2 separate regions of the Homo sapiens genome follow, and region 1 is linked to region 2. Evidence: promoter capture Hi-C in 16 types of primary human blood cells and fetal thymus (Javierre and others, 2016). All regions are on one chromosome and are shown on one strand. The core of a region is centred on a gene start or on the middle of the fragment in contact, and the rest is flanking DNA. Distances in the headings are between cores, read along the strand shown. Region 1 has its middle 17 kb from the start of ZNF331. Region 2 holds the start of LENG1 (leukocyte receptor cluster member 1).

Region 1 (2,920 bases), core at 44-2,543, 640 kb after region 2:
CTCTACTAAAAATACAAAAATTAGCTGGGCATGGTGGCGTGCGCCTGTGGTCCCAGCTACTTGGGAGGCTGAGGCAGGAGAATCGCTTGAACCTGGGAACCGAGATCGCACCACTGCACTCCAGCCCTGGGCGACAGAGCAAGACTCTGTCTCAAAAAAAAAAAAAACAAAGAAAGAAAATAGGGCACACTTGTCCCCAGACCACAGTTAAAATCAATCAGAAATAAGAGGGCACAGGCATGTGAGTTTTTCAGAGAAATGCTGGAAAACTCTAGGAACTGGGGTTCTGAAACATGGAGCTGCCCCTCTCACCACCTCCCCGCCTCCCATGTCAGGTACCTCTTTCTTCCCCAAAAGGAATTCTATTCTTGAGGTTACTTCCTCTTGTCGTCCAGGTAGTGTGCACGGAGAGCACTTCTGGCTCCAAAACTGCCATCTCGTGACTTGTGAAGCCTTCTTCTTGGTCATTTTCACAATAGCGTAGAGCCTCTCACGTCACTTTGGGACCACTGCTCCCTAGCAGGTACCACATGGCTGGAAGGCCAAGGCACAGGAAGCAACGGAGACACTAGAAAGACAGGTGACATGGTCGCACACACCTGTGCTCACTCAAAAGGCCATGCACCCAGGCCCGATCCCGACCAGTCACAGCCGCACACTCGCTGGCCCTTTCACACCCACAGACGCTCACACCAGAGGGACACTGCCTGTCCCTGTCAACCTGACAGAAGTGCAAAGGCACATTTCAGAGACACGGAGACCCGTCCTGGCCGTGCCACCTCTGCAGACCCCACCAGCATTGACCTCGCACAGAACGGAGGTGCAGAGACACAGCCCGGCTGCGTCACCCCTACAGATGCCCTTACAGCCCGGCGCTATGGCCCTCATAGACGTCTACACACACCTGTGTCACAGTTTATGGGGACAGAGCCCGGCCGCGTCAACCCCGCATGCATCACGGCTTAGGGGAACGGGGCTTGTTCGCATTACCCCACAGACGAAGACAATTATCTCAGTCACTGGGCCACGGCGGGGCCCCACCAGGCAGCCTCTGGCTTATTCACACACACACACACACACACACACACACACTCACACACACTCCCACTTCCCTGCTCGCCGCTCCCGAAGCCTCAGGCCGAAGCTTCTTCATTTTAGGGCCTCCGCGTCCCGAGTGGCTCCCTCACCGCCATTCCCCGCGGAACCCTGCCCTGGCTTCCTCCTGGGAGGCAAATAGCTCCCGGCTCGAGGCCTAACCACACCCAGCACATCAGGAGGTGAAACAAGGTCTCAGGCGCAGTTGGGATAAGATCCAGGAGAAACCATTTTTAAAAATCCCGCGAGCATGAAGCACGCCCCTCAGCCGGCCACCCGGCTCGCTCCTCATTGGACTGTGCCCCAAGGCCCTCTGGGAAATGTAATGCGAAACCAGAGAAGCTTCGACGCAGCTGGAAGGGCGCCCGTCAGTGTTTCCCAGCATGCAACTCTACACGGCGCAAATGGAGCCGTGACCCAGAGGCCTCTGGGAAATGTAGTCCATAACCCGGAAATCCACAGAGTTGGAAGCGGCTGTCAGGATTTCCCAGCATGCAACTCTACGCGACCCTAAGGGCGTCCTGCCTTGAGGGCTTCTGGGAAATGTAGCTCATAACCCGGGAATCGACGTATCTGGAAGGGCGCCCATCAGTGTTTCCCTGCAGGCAACTGCACACGGCCCTAATGGAGCCATGCCCCAGAGACCTCTGGGAAATGCTCACTACGCGGGAATCCTTAGCGCTGGAAGCGCGGCCGTCAGAATGCTTTTCGTCGGTGTCTCCTCCCACTGTTAGAGCAGCTGCACCCCCCATAGACTTCTGGGAAAGCGTATTTCAGACTGGCAGAATCTTCAAATGCTGGAAGCCCTGTCGGCCTTCTCCTGCCCTGAAACTTTGCTTGCTCCTAAGGCGCACCACAAAAAATTCCTGGGAAAAGTGGTTCAGGCTCTAGGGGCCTACAGTTATAATTGCTTACAACTTGCATTTGGGATCCGTCCATAGGGAAGGCGTGTCCCCGCGTCCTTCTGGGAAGGAAATGTAGTCTGAAACGACCAGAAATCACGCCTGTAATCTCAGCACTTTGGGAGGCCGAGGCGGGTATATCACCTGAGATCAGGAGTTCGAGACCCTCCTGCCCAACATGGTGAAACCCCATCGCTCTAAAAATGCAAAAATTAGCCAGGCGTGGTGGTGTGTGCCTGTAATCCCAGCTACTTGGGAGGCTGAGGGAAGAGAATCGCTTGAACCCAGGAGGCAGAGGTTGCAGTGAGCCGAGATCACACCACTGCACTCCAGCCTGGGCGATAAGAGTGAAACAATGTCTCAAAATAATAATAATAATAATAATAAGCCCGGAAAGCTTAAAAGCTGTGATTTGGGAAAAGTTCAAAAATTTCCCAGCATGCAACATGGCCCTCCTTAGAAAAGAGCTGTGCCTCCAGAGCGTTCTTGGAAATACAGCCCCGAGCTGGAAATGCCTCTAGAAAGTGTTAGGTAGGGTGTTTACATGTGAGATTTTGGGGACGTTTCAGCACTGCCCTTTCCCCCACCCCCCAGTAGATTGGGGAGCTCCAGGCATGTGTGTAGGGACCTTGAGTAGGTTCCACGGGAGTGACCTGGTCCTGACTGGGTCTGTGCCAAGGCTCTCTCTGTAAGGGCAGGACTTTGCGTTTCGTTCTCTGATGCTGTCCCAGACTTGGGAGCACTGCCTGGCTCTTCAGATGTCTCTGTGAGTGTTACCTTGGTATGGGCGGGAGAGGCCTGGGCTGTATGGCTTGCTGCCCGGCAGGATATTGACAAGATGTTCTTATGATCAGGCGGTTTGGCCCTTTTTCCGGTGGGATCTCATCAGGATGTTCCTTGGACCTTTGCCAAGAAAGATATGA
Region 2 (3,027 bases), core at 442-2,941:
ACTCCAGCCTGGGCGACAGAGCGAGACTCTGTCTCAAAAAAAAAAGCCTGGGCGACAGAGCGAGACTCTGTCTCAAAAAAAAAAAAAAAAAAAAATGGAGGCACAGACTCTTGTGTTTCAGAGCCCTTTTCTCCGTGCCTTCCCCCACCAGCTTACCCTCTTCTCCACCTGCTCCCCGGCTGCCCGCACCTTCCGGGCCTCCGCGGCGAATTTCTTTTTCCCCTTGGTCCTTCTCCTGGGTCTGGCCATCTCCAGCGTTCCCCTGCTTTACAGCATCTTCCTGTAAGTGCGAGAGGCTCCCGCCTCTCTCCCTCCCTCTCTCCCCATTCAGTGTTCAGACTCCTGGCACTATGTGAGCCCAGCCTGTCTTGACTTCAGGATCCCGCCTTCTAAGCTGTGTGGTCCATTCCGGGGGCAGTCGTCCATCTGGGCCCAGATCCCTGAGTCTATTTCCAGCCTCCCTGAGACCACCCAGAATTTCCTCTTCTTCCTGGGGACCCAGGCTTTTGCTGTGCCCCTTCTGCTGATCTCCAGGTGAGACGGCCCAGACTTCTGGGTCTGGGTTTGAATGCGTGTGATCTGGGGGCCACCACCTGCGTCCAAGAGAGGAGAGGCTTGGGCGTGGGAGCAGGCAACGTACTGAGTCTGAGGGAGGAGGCCTAGGCTCCTGGACTGCTGGGTCCGAAGGAGGAGGTGGGCGGGACGTAGGACTCCTGGATCTGAAGGCGGAGGGGCTGGGAGACTGAACTCCTTGAGCCCAGACGAGGAGGGGCTTAGGCGTCCACATCCCTGGCTTCGAAGGAGCCAGACGTTTGGATATAATGGAAGAGCGTGTCAGGAGTGGCTTCCGTTCCTGTCTCCTTCAGCATCCTGATGGCGTACACTGTGGCTCTGGCTAACTCCTACGGACGCCTCATCTCTGAGCTCAAACGTCAGAGAGAGACGGTGAGCCAGGCGGGTCCCTGAGAGGGCCCCTGGGGAACATGGAAAGGGGTTGGGGAAGAGGATTGTCTCACCTCCACCTCTCTTTGCCCCAGGAGGCGCAGAATAAAGTCTTCCTGGCACGGCGCGCTGTGGCGCTGACCTCCACCAAACCGGCTCTTTGACCCCCGCAGCCCACGTCCCGCTTTCAGACCCCAGGCCCATTGTAAGCCTAGGTCACAACATCTGTAAACTAGGAGAACTGGAGAAGACTCCACGCCCTTCCAGCTTTGGTATCTGGAGATTTCCAGGGCCCCTCGCCGCCACGTCCCTGACTCTCGGGTGATCTTCCTTGTATCAATAAATACAGCCGAGGTTGCTGAGCGCGCTTTGAAATCTGCGTCCTGAAGGTGGGGGCAGGGCTACAGCGGGGCAGGAGCCAATCAAATGTACGGGCATGTTTGTCGGTGCAGAGCGCTCTTCCGCAAGGAGACTTGTCGGTCATGTCGGCCAATCGACGGCCGCATCTGGTAGCATCAGGGGCGGGCCAACTTATGATTGGTTCAGATCTGTGACAAGAGGCGGTTGCTAGGGGATACCACGAGCCGAACGCCTAGCATTCGCTGTGATAAAGGGCGTCTCAGCCAATCACCTGTCGCTACAGGCCAGGGGGCCGTACCAACTAATTCGGAACCAATCCGCGGTCGAAGTAGGGACAAGAAAAAGGGGGGCATCCTCTCGCCAATCGGAAGTGCAAAGAGGCGGGCGTGCCAGTCCCTGGACAGCTACGACGCCATGAATATCTTGCCCAAGAAGAGCTGGCACGTCCGGAACAAGGACAATGTCGCCCGCGTGCGGCGTGACGAGGCCCAGGCCCGGGAGGAGGAGAAGGAGCGTGAGCGGAGGGTGCTGCTGGCTCAGCAAGAGGTAAGCTCGGAAGCCGGCAGGGCGGCGCTCCGGGGCCCAGCGCGCAGGCGCCGCGGTTGGGGGCCGGAAGCGGAGGCGTTGCGCAGGCTCAATGTGCCCCGTGTGAAATTCGGGACCAGGCGCCGATCCCACTTTCGAGGACGTTGCCCCGCAAACCTTGTGCCCACTTCCACGAAACCTTCCTTGATCTCGCCCTCGTCTTAGTTTTTCCCCCACTGATGTATTTCACATGGCTGGAACAGTGTCTAGCACAAAAGAGAAGCTTAACATTTAATGAATCCGTGAACCCTTGGACAGTTCAAGGAAATTCGGATCACTTTTTAGTTTGCCTGCACAGCCTATTTATTGAGCATCTACTGTATGCTAACTACATGCCGTGCACCTGACTTGCGGAATCCCCAATAAGCACTGTTCGTTCTTAGAGGGGCACTGTCATCTCTGTTGCACGAAGTGAGATGGCTTCAGTGAGGGGAAGGCACATTTTAAGGAGAGGCGGACAGCCAGGCTCCACGCCATCGGGCGAGCCCTTTCGTGCACCGCCCCCTAGACACATACACACAAACACGGGCTTTCCGTATGGCTCTTTAAATCTGTTTGGTGTACACCCAACTTTCATTTCCTTAGCTAGTCTGATCCTCCGCCGTGGGTGGGAGGTAGTCTAGGTTTTTAGAATCTCAGTAGGCTGCTGAGCGCTGTTTGAAATCCGCGTCCTGAAGGCAGGGGACAGGGCTTCAGCAGACTTGGGGTAGTCACTTGGAGCCATGGCTAGAATTCAGATCGTCTGGCCTAATGCATACCTTTATGGCTGTTTTAATTGTCTCACTTGAGGTTAGGAACCCCTTTGGTTTAGGCCAGGGACCTCCTCCCATACATCCTTGATGACCCGTGGTTTACTATTTGAAAGGGAGTTTACAAAACCCAGGCGTTGCCTCATCTGCCTACCCTCACCCCCAGCTAGGACAGGTGCCTCTTTTAGGCGCCTAGTGCTCCCTTTCTCATAACCCCAGCACCCTGGACTGCCATTTTCTGTGGTGGGCACCAGACTCACAGTTCTTGAATTACCTCTAGGTTCTGAATGTCCTGCCTATAACTTTCTCCCCAGGCCCGTACAGAATTCCTACGGAAGAAAGCCAGACATCAGAACTCACTGCCTGAGCTTGAAGCAGCAGAGGCGGGAGC

The links. The method cuts DNA at HindIII sites, captures the fragments that hold promoters and counts their contacts. A CHiCAGO score of 5 or more calls a contact.
Region 1: a fragment that was not itself captured here is called in contact with the fragment with the promoter of LENG1 in region 2 in 2 of 17 cell types (fetal thymus and naive CD4 T cells); the score reaches 8.8 in fetal thymus.

Annotation. Positions count from the first base shown.
Region 1 is chr19:53,519,504-53,522,423 of GRCh38, reverse strand. It overlaps a transcript of ZNF331 not described here. Among named protein-coding and RNA genes, the nearest start is that of ZNF331, 17 kb to the left of the region's middle. RefSeq lists enhancers at 378-1,151, 1,462-1,661, 1,152-1,925, 1,926-2,700. The HindIII fragment of the contact is 293 bases long and covers 1,147-1,439 here.
Region 2 is chr19:54,158,385-54,161,411 of GRCh38, reverse strand. It overlaps LENG1 (leukocyte receptor cluster member 1), which reads left to right and starts at 1,691. Exons shown (of 4, transcript NM_024316.3): 1 at 1,691-1,848; 2 at 2,951-3,027. The coding sequence starts at 1,717. It overlaps TMC4 (transmembrane channel like 4), which reads left to right. Exons shown (of 15, transcript NM_144686.4): 12 at 152-282; 13 at 379-534; 14 at 867-945; 15 at 1,038-1,304. The coding sequence ends at 1,106. RefSeq lists an enhancer at 1,689-2,358. The HindIII fragment of the contact is 1,716 bases long and covers 397-2,112 here.